Linked DNA regions of Homo sapiens: all the other regions are linked to region 1. Evidence: promoter capture Hi-C in 16 types of primary human blood cells and fetal thymus (Javierre and others, 2016). All regions are on one chromosome and are shown on one strand. Each heading gives the region's core, a stretch centred on a gene start or on the middle of the fragment in contact. The rest is flanking DNA. Distances are from core to core; before and after follow the strand shown.

Evidence for each region. The method cuts DNA at HindIII sites, captures the fragments that hold promoters and counts their contacts. A CHiCAGO score of 5 or more calls a contact.
Region 2: a contact is called between a fragment that was not itself captured here and the fragment with the promoter of FKBP3 in region 1, in 14 of 17 cell types (fetal thymus, monocytes, naive B cells and 11 more). The highest score is 11.7, in fetal thymus.
Region 3: a contact is called between a fragment that was not itself captured here and the fragment with the promoter of FKBP3 in region 1, in 6 of 17 cell types (activated CD4 T cells, total CD4 T cells, non-activated CD4 T cells and 3 more). The highest score is 10.1, in activated CD4 T cells.

The regions. Positions count from the first base shown.
Region 1 is chr14:45,131,887-45,136,721 of GRCh38, reverse strand. It overlaps FKBP3 (FKBP prolyl isomerase 3), which reads left to right and starts at 2,241. Exons shown (of 7, transcript NM_002013.4): 1 at 2,241-2,373. The coding sequence starts at 2,266. FANCM (FA complementation group M) reads right to left here and starts at 792. Exons shown (of 23, transcript NM_020937.4): 1 at 183-792. The coding sequence starts at 690. RefSeq lists enhancers at 589-638, 1,301-2,171, 2,265-2,484, 2,172-3,043 and a silencer at 2,118-2,295. The HindIII fragment of the contact is 3,907 bases long and covers 1-3,550 here.
Region 2 is chr14:45,197,108-45,201,430 of GRCh38, reverse strand. FANCM (FA complementation group M) reads right to left here. Exons shown (of 23, transcript NM_020937.4): 22 at 2,496-2,787; 23 at 541-1,561. The coding sequence ends at 1,423. Among named protein-coding and RNA genes, the nearest start is that of MIS18BP1, 54 kb to the left of the region's middle. RefSeq lists an enhancer at 2,505-3,024. The HindIII fragment of the contact is 1,579 bases long and covers 692-2,270 here.
Region 3 is chr14:45,011,379-45,016,175 of GRCh38, reverse strand. It overlaps TOGARAM1 (TOG array regulator of axonemal microtubules 1), which reads right to left. Exons shown (of 20, transcript NM_001308120.2): 7 at 4,101-4,201. Among named protein-coding and RNA genes, the nearest start is that of TOGARAM1, 52 kb to the right of the region's middle. The HindIII fragment of the contact is 9,107 bases long and covers 1-4,797 here.

The DNA of each region.
Region 1 (4,835 bases), core at 992-3,491:
CAAGCTGCAGATATTCTCTGAAGATTGAATAAAGCAACCCTATTCATCAGTTTTGGGCTTGCTGCAAGTAGAGAATGTTTTAAGAGGGAGGGCGTAAGATGCACATGTTGTAGCTTGGGAACTATTCCACATGGGTCAGGAATTCCCAGCTCTTACTTCAAAATTAGTCCAGTCTAAGATACCTGTCATTTCGGCCATGTGGGATTGCGGGATACCCATCACCTGGTAGCAAGCCTCGATCTGCTGTGTCACCAAGGGTTTCGTTGGGGCCATGAAGACCACCTTTCCTGAAGGGAACCAGCGGTAGAAATTGTACATGACCACGGCGGCAATAAAGGTCTTTCCCAGTCCGGTAGGCAGACACACCAGCGTATTGCAAAACAGAGCAGCCCGGGAAATGTGCAGCTGGTAGTCCCGCACTGGGCAATTGGTAGGGTAAATCCACAGGGCGCCCGCGGAGGTGCAGAACCCGCCATTCTCTAGACACAACTGCCGCTCAGCCTCGTACGCCGCGACAAGCAACACATCATCGTCCGACTCCAGCTGAGCCTCCGCTGCTGCTGGCAAAGGCGCCTTGGAGCTGCCAGGGCTCTGAGGTCGCTCAGTTCCGGAGCTGCAACCCGGAGTCCCAGATGATCGGGAGATACTTGAGCCCCACGTCTGAAAAAGCGTTCTTTGCCGTCCGCTCATTAGGCCGACAACCACCGAAGGCTTCTGTCAGATATCCGTAGCAGCAGCAGCTCAACCGCTACGGTTCCGATCCCCATCGGTTTCCTTCGCACAAAACTCTGGAACGAGAAGGCGGGACTAAGGCCAGTTTATCCAGTTGAAAATGCCGCTACTGAGTTTCCGTTGGGAATGATTGGCTGGCTTCCCGGAAACCTTCACAGCCCTGCCGGAGACTCATGCGCATTATTAAGGCGTTACTCTAAATATGGTCCCCGGTGCGGTTCCGGTGTTTTGTTTTAACAAACTCTAAATTTAAGTTCCGTTTCCAATGATTAGATGGCTGGGCGTCATTGCTAACGTGATAAATCACTTAAAATGTTATAATAGAGATTTATTGTAAAATATTACATACCCGGGGACAATGGAATAGCCACCAGTTTGGGAACTTAATGTTATTGAGCGTCTAACGTGCCTCATTCCTTGTACTTTTAAATCAGAATATAAAGTGAAAAGCAAAAATGTGTAGATGGAATAATTTGTCTTATATCTCTATCTGGGCTGAGAAAACAAAATGCCAAGTCTCTTTTTCACCGCGCTGGGAGTGGCAACCCATTATTTTAATATTTTCATTGTTTAAAGGGAAGTGAACGTGGTCTGGTCCAGCTATTCGTCAGAATTTTTTTTTTTAATGCTCCTTGCAAAGCAGAGCTAACTCATAGGCAACATGCCCAGAGTCAGCCTACATTTTTTTAAGTAAGGAGTCCTGATGTTCAACTATTAAATCTTTATTATAGGTAAGAGCATTATAATAAACGTCGGTGTGCAATTATTCCACTCTAACGAAGATTTCTGTCTCAAATAATTCCTGACTTCTCTCTAAACCTGACTTTGAGTAACCTCTGTAAATTTGTTTCCTCGTGTACTGAGAAAAAAATATACATCACAGAGTTACGAGCATTAATAATGTCATTCTCATCAGCAAGTGGCATCCTGAGTGCGGCTTCTTTATAAATTGTTTTATTTGTTAAAGTTTCTGAACTTCGTTTTGGACAAACTTTCTCGTATTTGTATGGGGGGAAGGGGATGGGCAGTTTGTATTTAAGTTTCGGTTGTGTGATCTTTAAAAGGGAAATGGTGGGATATGGGTTTTCGGATCGACAAGGACTGAAGCACTTCAGGTGTGACTTTTTAGGCTAGAACTAGATAAAACGAGATAAGGAGCCTGAATGCTGTTTTCTTTTAACAGGTTATAGACTGGACTTTAAAGGCATAGCTGCCTTAAATGTGGGTAATGGTTGATAAATGTCGCTACCATCAGAGGTCGCTTCACAAGGTGTCTAATTCAGAATCGAAGATCTCTAGCGGTCTTCTACTCAGTCGACTGCAGAGACGACCGCGGTAGGTTTTTCAACCCGGACTCAACAAAGAAGCCCTCATAGCACAGCCTTGACGTCACTCAAAGACAGGCCCCAATCCCGACTGCTAGAGCAGAGGCCCGCCCCTCGACCTCCGTGAGTGGCCCCGCCCCGCCCTAGGGGGCGGGGCGATGCCGAACTGCGGCGGGCTGGCTCAGTAAAGCGGAGGCAGCGGGGGAAGATGGCGGCGGCCGTTCCACAGCGGGCGTGGACCGTGGAGCAGCTGCGCAGTGAGCAGCTGCCCAAGAAGGACATTATCAAGTTTCTGCAGGAACACGGTTCAGATTCGGTACCAGAGGCGTAGGGGCGGCCGGGCTGGTGCGGCTGAGGGACGCCTCACCCCCCTGGAGATGCCCATACATTCCGTATTCCTCTGTGCCCCCGCCCTCGTCTTCCCGCGGCCGGTGGCCTGGAAGGCCGGAGAGGCCCAGCTTGTGCTTTGGTGCCTCGCTCCCGCCTCTCGGGCGTTCTCTACTGGGGCAGGGGAGCAGCTTTATTTCTTGGGGCACACAGGCTGCAATTGTAGAGTTAGAACCTCATTGGGATCCTTGAGTGGGGGTGGAGGCCAGAAAAATAGGAACCCGAGGATATTGGGGGCTAGGGCGGAGAGGCCGAGGAATAGTGGTGTGGATGAGACTCCTGGGAGCGGGGCGCCGGCTACTAGGGAAATGGGAAGGGATGTGAAGATTTCTGTGGGAACGGTGTATCCAACTTGCTTTTCTCAACAGTTTACTAAATACTGAACATTAATGCGTGTGATTTTTAAAAAATCCGTAGGTTGTGGTTTAAGTTTTGATTTAACATATCGACCCTTTAAATGACCTTTTCACCTTTATACTTTAAGGGAGCTACATGCACATTTCTCTTGTGCAGTGGTCTGTCATTGTTATAAACAGACTAAGAAATTTATTTGAAATGCTTTATACTGTAGGCTCTCCATTTGTCAGCATAGTCTCCATCTTAACCATCCGTCTATAGTCAAGTTATTTTTGTTACACTTGTTTTTCCTTTGGAAAATAAGTTCATTCATGCACCTGTTAAATTGCTGAAATAGTTGTGCACGCAGCATTCTCTTACAAGCGGCAGCCTGCTTGTGTTTTCTATACAATTTTTAAAATTCTAAACTTTTCATTTAGAAAAACTGTTTCTGGGTTTTTTTGTTTGTTTGTTTGAGACGGAGTCTCTCTCTGTTGCCCAGGCTGGAGTGCAGTGGCGCGATCTCGGCTCACTGCAACCTCCGCCTCCCGGGTTCAAACGATTCTCCTGCCTCTGCCTCTCGAGTAGCTAGGACTACAGGCGCGTGCCACCACGCCAGGTTAATTTTTTGTATTTTTAATAGAGACGGGATTTCACCGTGTTAGTCAGGATGGTCTCGATCTCCTGACCTCGTGATCCGCCCGCCTCGGCCTCCCAAAGTGCTGGGATTACAGGCGTGAGCCACTATTTCTGGGTTATTTTGAGAAGCTTATATTTTATTTTCATTTTGGGCGGGCGTCATGACAGGGAGATAGAAGAACTCTCCAACTTCCAGTGCCTTCTTCCTTAATTATTATCCTGGCATCCGCATCTTAGATTAATTTAGCAGATATTAATACAACATCTGTAACAAGAACTATTCTCAGTGTTTGGAGGTACAAGGGTGAAAAAGAACATGTGTCGGGGATCTTACCCCATTTTAATGGAACTATTTTCTCTTAAGCCAATTCGTATTTCATCTGAAACAATAGAATAGACATCATTAACATTTAATAATACCTCAGTCATGTACTTCATCCATCATATTCTTATGAAACAAATCATGCCATGTGGAATCGTATGTAAAACTGGGCCACGTGGAAGAATTTCAACAGACTTGGATTATCAAAATGTTTTTATAACATTAATCTTTTAAATGCATAGTCTCGGTCGGTCGTGGTGGCTCATTCCTGTAATCCTAGCACTTTCGGAGGCCAAAGCGGGCGGATCACGAGGTCAGGAGATCGAGACCATCCTGACTAACAGTTGAGGCCAGGCATTGAGGACCAGCCTGGCCAACGTAGCGAAACCTCATTTCTACTAAAAATACAAAAAAAATTAGCTGGGCCTGGTGGTGGGCGCCTCTAATCCCAGCTGTTCGGGAGGCTGAGGCAGGAGAATCGTTTCAACCCAAGAGGGGGAGGTTGCAGTGGGCCGAGATTGGGCCACTGCACTCCAGCCTGGGCGACAGAGCTAGACTCTGTCTCAAAAATTAATAATAATAATCTCCGGTGATCATTAACACTTAGACCTATACTTGACAATAATTATTTTATTAATCATAAGATATCAAAGAGATGTTTATGCTTTTATGCTTTGGGTATTTTCTGGAATCTTTAACAAGAAACCACCAGCATGCTAAAGGTAACTGATTACTTCCGTTTAGTCAACTTTGTCTCCTTTCCCCATCAGCTGTTATTTAGAACATATCTTTGAAAGAAAAAGCAAAAGAAAAAAATACAATAGTGATAGTGTTAGCTGTTAACTGCTAATAATGTTAACTGCTTTATCAAAAGCTTAGAAGATGCCAAAGGACAACTTTGAGAATGTAACAAAATTAGGAATTAAGCAAGGACCACAAGGCAGAAAAAGAAGCAGAATAAAATAAGGAAACAAAGAAGTTATGGAAATCCTCACAATTACGTGATTTTCAGATAAAGTTATACTACGACTTGCTATTTCAGCAGTAGTATTTTAGTGTCCATCTGCCATCTTAGCAGTCTTATATTTGAAAGA
Region 2 (4,323 bases), core at 232-2,731, 65 kb before region 1:
TGTGTTTGTTTTTGTTTGTTTTTGAGATAGAGTCTGGCTCTATCGCCCAGGCTGGAGTGCAGTGGCACGATCTCAGCTCACTGGAAGCTCCGCCTCCCGGGTTCACGCCATGCTCCTGCCTCAGCCTCCTGAGTAGCTGGGACTACAGGTGTCTGCCACCATGCCCGGCTAATTTTTTTATATTTTTAGTAGAGACGGGATGGGGTTTCACCGTGTTAGCCAGGATGTTCTTGATCTCCTGACTTCGTGATCCGCCCCCCTCGGCCTCCCCAAGTGCTGGGATTACAGGCGTGAGCCACCGCGCCCGGCCCCAAGCAGAGCCTTCTTAATGCCATCACAGACAACAGAATGGATCAAAACGGTAAATATAATAGGGTCAACATAATGGGCCTGCATTCAGTAATTTATATTAAAAAGAAACTTTCTAAGTCCAAACCAATATACCATTTTGAATATATTTCAGCAACAAAAAAGAGTAATGTAGCTGGGAGTTTGTATTAGTCCATTCTCACGCTGCTATGAAGAAATAACCCGACTGGGTAATTTATAAGGAAAAGATGTTTAATTGACTCACAGTCCTGCATGGCTGGGGAGGCCTCGGGAACTTACAATCATGGTGGAGGGGAAGCAAACGTTTCCTTTTCCACATGGCAGTAGGCAAGAGAACTGCAGAGTGAACAGAGGAAAAGCTTATAAAACCATCAGATCCTCTGAGAACTATCACTAGAACAGCATGGGGGAACCGCCCCCATGAGCTAATCACGTTCCAGGAGGTCCCTCCCCAATATATTGGGATTATAATTCAGATTACAAGTCAAGATGAGATTTTGGTTGGGGACACAGCCAAACCATATCAGAGTTCATATTAATAGATTTGACAGTACTTAACTGGGACACACCTTTGGTCAGATAAACATTCAGTTAAGTTTTCTACTTTCCTAGTTACTGGGTCATTTATCTCACAACCCACCCATCACCCACACCTTACCAAGTACATGTATTTAGAATCAGTACACTTAAAAGTATACTATCTACACATAGGGAAAATCGACAAGTTGGCTGTAGTCATAGACATGTCAACTTTACTATTTATCACAACAGTACAACTTTAATTTTGGGAAACATTCCAAAGTATATCTCTAGCTTAGCTTTTACTTTCTTAAACTATCCTTAGTAACACTTTTAATAAACCTTGTTTTATTTAATAAGAAAAATTAGTTTTATAATCTAGTCAAAATGATCACTGAACATCAGATTTTTCTTTTTTAATAATTTCTATAATCTATAAATAAAAATGTATACAATATAAAATATTTAAATAAAATATTCTCTTATTTACAAATAAACATAAAACAGCAATGATTATTGAAGTGCATTTAATATTGTGAGAGGTCTTTGAAAACCCCATCTTGAGCAGCTTGATTATATATCAGATTTCAGTCTATCTTGGTTAAGATCATTTGGTAACATTTGTATGTCAAATACATAGTGAATATATCTATAGATCTCCTCAGCCTTCTGATGAGTTACTTGTGCATACATGGAGATTTCTTGAAGTGAGCTGAAAAATAAATGAGACAAAATCATTACACTAGGACTTTTGGCTTTTATAAAATTTAATATTACCTAAAGAACACCAAACACAGTAGCCTTTAAGGAAATCATCTCAAGCATTATCCGCCCAGCTGATATGTCTTGAACATTAGTTTGGATAAAAGAGCTACTTGTTTCCTTTCCTTAAAATTATCTAGAATAACAATTTCAACATCTTCAATGAACTGAATGTTTTTGTGTTGCCCAAAATTCATATGTTGAAGCCGTAATCCCAATGTGATGGTATTTGGAAGTGGCAACTTTGAGAATTAGTTGATAAAGGTGGATATCCTTGTGCACTTTTAAGAAGAGGTCAAAGAGCTAGCTAGCTCTATTTCTGCCATGTGAGGATACAATGAGAAGGCAGTAGTCTGTGACTCAGTAGAAAGCTCTCTCCAGAACCCAGCCATGATCTCAGACTTCCAGTATCCAGAACTGGCAGAAATAAATTTGTGTTGTTTGTGTATTTTATCATTGCAGCATGAGCTAAGACAGTATCTGATGTAGGCCTTTAATTAAAATGAACTACATTCTAAAATCTCCCTCTTCAAGCAATATAATGATCACAACTAGTAAAATACTCATTTTTCTTGTTACAGAACTGAACAGCCCAGAAATGTTAGATTGCAAGGTCAAAGGAAACTGCTATTTATTGTCTCTCCACAGAGCTCTAAGCTTCTCAAAGGAAATCCCTACACCTATTTTTTCTTTTTTCTTTTTTTCGAATAATGTCCCTTAGCTTCATACAGTAACTAATATATGTTGGCAGGCAAAAAATGTTTACTGAATAAAATAATCTAACAGGCATGATGCCGCTTAAATTTTTTTAACATTAAACTTCTATGGAATGCTTTTACGAATCTTTTAAAAGTAATCATTTAAAAATATTACAACAGACATACCTGTTAGCCATCCTTTTCACAGATGAAAACTGGTGACACATATTTAATGCAGTTATATAACTTATATTGGGAATACTTAAATAAAACTGGAGTGCCTCACTTTTATTACTATTCACCACTGTTGGAACATGAATACCAACATTCTTTCTTTGTTCCACTAAAGACAGTTCCTTTAGCAAATCTGCGGTTTCTTCTTGGCAGGAACTGAAAAGAATTCGGATTCCAGCGCCAATTAAGGTAGTCAGCAGGCTGTCATAGCTCTTTGTTCTCCTAAACATCCTTGATGTGTCTCCTAAATATTCATATTTAGGGAAAGGCAAACTTCAGTAACTAATATTAAGTAGAATTATTAATATACTTTATTTTATTAAAATCCCAAGATCTACACCATTGAGCAAACTGGTGCCACATTCTGCTAATGAGAAACCCTACAACTAATGTTTCTCAAATATCTGAGAAAGAAAATAGGGGTAACTATGAGCGCCTTGAGCTGGAATCAACGTAGAAAGGTGAATAAGGAAGAGCTTATATTCCTAGATAATTCACTCCTGAAGGCCAAGACTGTATTACTCATCTCTAGTTTTTCATGCTAGCTCTGATGAAGGGTGCATTAAGTACTGGTTTAATATAAAATTATCTTAGGTATTTATTCCAAAGAATAACTCAACAAATACCCTGTACACCCATTTTAACATCATCTTGCCAATTACTTCCCTACCCTTTCTTGTTCATTTTCTATTCCATATTCTACTTAAATCCTTTTATTGGTATTCCCTATTATGGCCCCCGATACTTTTCTATAACCTTTGCCATGTTACCTTCCTGTCTATTCCAAATCTATTTCCTTTATCCCTGACTTTTCAAATTAAAAAGAAGGCTGGTGGCTCAAACATGTAATCCCAGCACTTTGGGAGGCTGAGGCAGGAAGATAACGAGGTCAAGAAATCGAGACCATCCTGGCCAACATGGTGAAACCTCGTCTCTACAAAAAATATAAAAAAAAAATTAGCTGAGCATGGTGGCACGCACCTGTAGTCTCAGCTACTCAGAAGACTGAGGCAGGAGAATCACTTGAACACAGGAGGCGGAGGTTGCAGTGAGCCGAGATTGCGCCACTGCACTCCAGCCTGGGCGACAGAGCAAGACTCCATTTCAAAAAAAAAAAAAAGAAGGCTGGGCATGGTGGCTCATGCCTGTAATCCCAGCACTTTGGAAGGCTGAGGCAGGCAGATCACCTGAGGTCAAGAGTTCAAGACCAGCCTGACCAACATGGTGAAACACCATCTCTACTAAAAATACAAAAATTAGCTGGGCATGGTGGCACATGCCTGTAATCCCAGCTACTCAGGAAGCTGAGGCAGGAGAATTGCTTGAACCCGGGAGGTGGAGGTTGCAGTGAGCCGAGATCATGCCACTGCACTCCAGCCTGGGCAACAGAGCGAGACTCTGTCTCAAAAAAAAAAAACAAAAAAAAAATTGGGTAACCAAAAGATAAAATGACTTATCTAAGGCCACACGGTTCACCAATGACAAAATGGGGATGAAAAGGCTGCCCAACTCCCACACCAATGTTTTACATAAACTACACTATTACCAAAAGTATAATTCTTCAATTCTTCCGCAGTGGCTTTCACCTACATGCTTTTACTTAGTTCTCATAATATCACAAGATGAGTAGAACAAGTGTATTATCAGTTCCTCAGAGGGAGTGATTTGTCAATGCAATATCACACAGAGAAGCCAGTAATTGGTGTGTCTTCTGATTCCATATCTCATGATCTTTTTACTGTTCTTGAGGGCTCGCCATACAATTAAATAATTACTGCAG
Region 3 (4,797 bases), core at 1,907-4,406, 120 kb after region 1:
GATCTGCCTACCTCAGCCTACTAAAGTCCTGGGATTACAGGTGTCAGCCACTGTGCCTGGCCTGACAAGTATTTTTTTAAATTGACACCTTTAACTTTACACTAAAAAAAAAAAATTTTTTTTAATCCAGAATTTACAAACTGTGACCTAAGAGATAGCTATTTCCCCATTTCTCTCTTTTCTCCTATTCCCATGAAAAACGAAAAAACTGAAAACTGAGAATACTCAGTAATTTTTCTTTATTGGTATGCTTAGGGAAGATTCTGATTTAGAGATATTAAATCTTAAAAGTTAACTCACCATGAAATTTAACCTTCTGTACTGGCTTCACTGATGAGGCAGTAAACTACATAGGGATAAAGAGCTCAGTATCTGGAATCATGCTTCCTGGCTTTAAATTACAGCACTGCCACTCAAACTGCTGAGAAGACCTGGACAAGTCACTCAACCTTATTTGTAAAATAGAGATAATAGTACCTCTTCTACATCTGTTGTTAGGATTAAATGAAGAAAATGCATATAAAGGGCTCCGCACAGTGCCTAACACATTTTAAGTACCCAAATGTTATTATATCCGTAATTTAAAAAAAAAAAAAAGCAAAACCCTAATGTAGGTCTCCTTCTAATGAATAACAAAAATTTTAATTTACATTTGAATGTTTAAACTCATCACTCTTTATGAATACTCTGCAGCTATTACAACCATAAAACATATACTAAATGCAAAATCTAGGCATTATATATTTGAGTCATTGTCCATTTTTATATATACTTCCAATGTAAACTATTAAGCAATAATGATGTGTGTATATATGTATAAATATATTTATTTATTTATTTATTTATTTATTTATTTATTTATTTATTTTTTGAGATAGGCTCTTGCTCTGTCATCCAGGCTGGAATACATTGGCACTATCTTGGCTCTCTGCAGCTTCAACCTCCTGGGCTCTCCTGATTCTCCTGCCTCAGCCTCCTGAATAGCTGGGACTACAGGCGCACGCCACCATTCTCCGCTACTTTTTAATTTTTTTGATAGAGATTAGGTTTTGCTATGTTGCTCAGGCTGGTCCCAAACTCTCGGGCTCAAGTGATTCACCTGCCTCAGCCTCCCAAAGTGCTGGGATTAGAGGTGTGAGCCACTGTGCCCAGTGAAATAGACTTTTAAAAAATAATGTTGTATTTGAATAAAAACAGGAAGGTAGGAAGAGGAGGTAGCTGGGGCAACAAGCTAGAAAGGACTGTAGAATAAAGGGCACTAAGTAAGTTCACAGAGAAAAGTTTCAAGAATATCCAATATTAAATCATAGAGAATTTGTAGAAAACACAGATTATCTTTATAAATTCTGTCTTGATAGTTAATTCATAAAATAAGACTCATAAACATACTGGCTTTGGGTGGAAATGTTTTCTATTAATAGGCAACACTAATCTAATATACTAGAAGAAGTTTACTGTAATATCATTCAGAAAATTTAGCACAATTTGCTTTAATAGGTAGTGGCAGAACATAGGTGGAATTTTAAAATAATTGTTATTTTTGTGTTTATCATCCAATAGTCTTTATTCTGAGCGTTATCATTTTTATGTTTTACCAATTAAGCCACAATAAATTTGTAGGAATCACTTGTTTACTGAAAACAAAGCAAACCCAAATATATAAAATCCGAAACATTAGCAACTTATTTTGAGAAAAGGTTAAATTTAATATAATGAATTCAATAATAGTAGTATTTCTAAAACTTGATCCTAGAAATACCTAATTTACTTATTAAAAATACAGATTTCTAACCAGAAAGATGAATTCATGAGGCATGAGATGAGGCCCCAGAATTAACAGATGTTACATGCACTCAAGGGTGATTCCTAAAATTAGGCAACTTTGTTGGGAGGCCGAGGTGGGTGGATCATGACCATCCTGGCTAACATGGTGAAATCCTGTCTCTACTAAAAACACAAAAAATTAGCCAGGCGTAGTGGCAGGCGCCTGTAGTCCCAGCTACCTGGGAGGCTGAGGAAGGAAAATGGCATGAACCTGGGAGGCGGAGCTTGCAGTGAGCTGAGATTACGCCACTGCACTCTAGCCTCAGCGACAGAGCGAGACTCTTGTCTCAAAAAAAAAAAAAAAAAAAGATTACGCAACTTTGGAAAACACTAAATATTGCATATATAAGTATGTATTATACTATTATGAGATCACTCTGCTAAAACTTAAATGACTCCCAAGGTCACACGACTAGGGTCACAAGGGAACTCAAATCCAGGTTTTTAAAATCTATTATTTTCCATTTCCAAAGATACTCTTCCAAAAGTGGGTTCCATTTTTACAAAGTAGATACAATCTAGTAATCAGATGTCTCTTCAATTTTACAGAAATACTTGAAAAATTATAGATTAGGATGATCAGCCTGAAAAAGGATTAAGGATAAGTTTATGTATTTCTTTGGGTCACTCTCTCCCCTTAGAGGACAAATACATATTGAGTGCCTACTATGCACTAGTTGCTTTATATATGTCATGAACTTAGATTTTCACTACCCTTCTCAAGGTTTATGTTGTCAGATGAGGGAACTAAGTTCCAAAGCAGTTAAGTAAGTTGTGTAATGTATGAATACTATTATTAAACATCAAACTGGGGTGTCAGCTCATCTTTTGGACTCCAAAGCACTTATATACTGTCTTTGTATGCCTAGAAGTGCAGCTATCTCTTTGTTAACACTAGTTTTATGCAAGGCAGTATACTAAACACACCTGGTTAAGTCACACATTCCCGATTATGATAAGCCTTGATAGGTAATCAGTGGGAAATAATCTTTGGGGATCAAGAATCTGAGAGTTAAAGAAAAGTAAAGCAATTGTAGTATCATTATAAAAGGTGTCAGTGCAAGATGTAATGGTATAACAAAAGAGGTAATAATCTTGTTTGTGAATTAAGGAAGGCTTCCCAGAGAAAGCAACTGAGCTCTTTTCACAGCTAAATAGGGTGTGGTATGGATTCTAGATTTCATCCAGAAAAAACAGTATGTGCATTTGCAAAGAGATAGGAAATGGTACTGATGGTGGTCTGATTTAACTGGATACAAACAGGGAAAGTACAAGATACAAAGAGGGCAGTGAAAAATGAGGCTGGAGAGGTAGGCTGGGACCAGATCATGAAAGCATGTCCAGAATGAATTCAGGCTGGCCAGTATAGTCAGATTTGCACTGTGGGGAACAGTTTCAAAGTAAGTGAGATTGAAGCAGGGAGAAAATTTAGGCGGCTAAGTAGGTAATAAATGAGGAAAAGTGTGAACTAAAGCCATGGTAGTGGGGATTACAAAGAGGGGTTGAGATTAAGACACATTTAAGAGCAAGAAATTTAAAATCTTAGCAAATAATCAAATACATATACAGTTTTTTAGGAAGGTGATTATAATATAAAGCAGCTTAAAGTTGTTAGGACTTTTACATTAGATCATGTGAAACTAAACATCATATACCAATTTGTTACAGTTTATTCACAATTCAACGTAGTTTTACTAATCATAATGAAGAATCACATGCAGTTCTCACCCTAAATAGATCATAGTGCAAATCTTTTTCTAATTGACTACTAATTACTAAATCTATTTTCTGAGAAGTGATGTTATAAAACTAAAGACTTACAGGTTAGTTCACAAAAATTCTTAACACAAGATACACATGAATTTAACTACTATTAACAGTTAATATTGTTTTTAAAGAAAATTGTCTTTCGGGATGTCCAGTGGTTCCCAAACTATGCTGCACATTAGAATCATCTGAGGAGTTTTCAAAATTCTGACAGCCAACACCAGCTAAATAACACTCCACACCAACTACATAAAAAATCTAGGTGTAGGAGCCAGCCATAGGTATGCCAATTGAGCTTTAAAAGAGATTGATGATTCAGGTAAATAAATATTTTTTTCTTCCAAAACAATATCATATTCCTGTCAAAAGGACCTTTTAAGGAGTAAAAAAATGATTAGTCTTAACCAGTATGCACAACAACATGAAATCTGAAATGCACTTGCTATCATTTTTTACATCATTTGAAAATCATATTTTATAAATTATTTTTATAAACAGACATAGAATACCTGCACTGGGGCTTTGTTCAGCAATATGAGAAATTTTTTTCTTTGCAGAAGAAAGTCTTGTTGGACAAGGTTTTGACCCAAATGTTGGAAATATGTCTGACCTGCAATGAAACAAAGTAATTTCAATAAACATTAAGATTTAGTGCTGTTCAATACTCACATCACATATTGTCTATTCTCCTTATTAACTCACAGACCTTTTAGATAATAAGGGAGCAATAAGTATGACACTTGAAAAACTATGGCTAACAGTGTGTGTGTATACACACACACACACACACACACACACATATATATTTTGCTATTCTTAGTTCACCTTTTGGACTACCAACCTTTTTAACATATGGCCAATTCTTAATTACTCAAGACAGGATTGCCACAGAAAATGACTCTGACTTATACTGTATAATCCCTAAGGAAAAAAAAAAATGATCCAAGAATCCATTCTAAAACCAAATCAAGGCCAAGTGTGGTGACTCATGCCTGTAATCCTAGCATTTTGGGAGGCCAAGACAGGAGGATCACTTGAGCCCAGGAAGTTCAAGGCCAGCCTGGGCACCATCGCAAAACTCCATCTCTACAAAAAAACTAAAAAATTAACCAGGCATGGCGGTGCACACCTGTAGTCCCAGCTACTACAGAGGCCGAGGTGGGAGGATCACCTGAGCCCAGGAGGCAGGGGTTGCAGTGAGCTGAG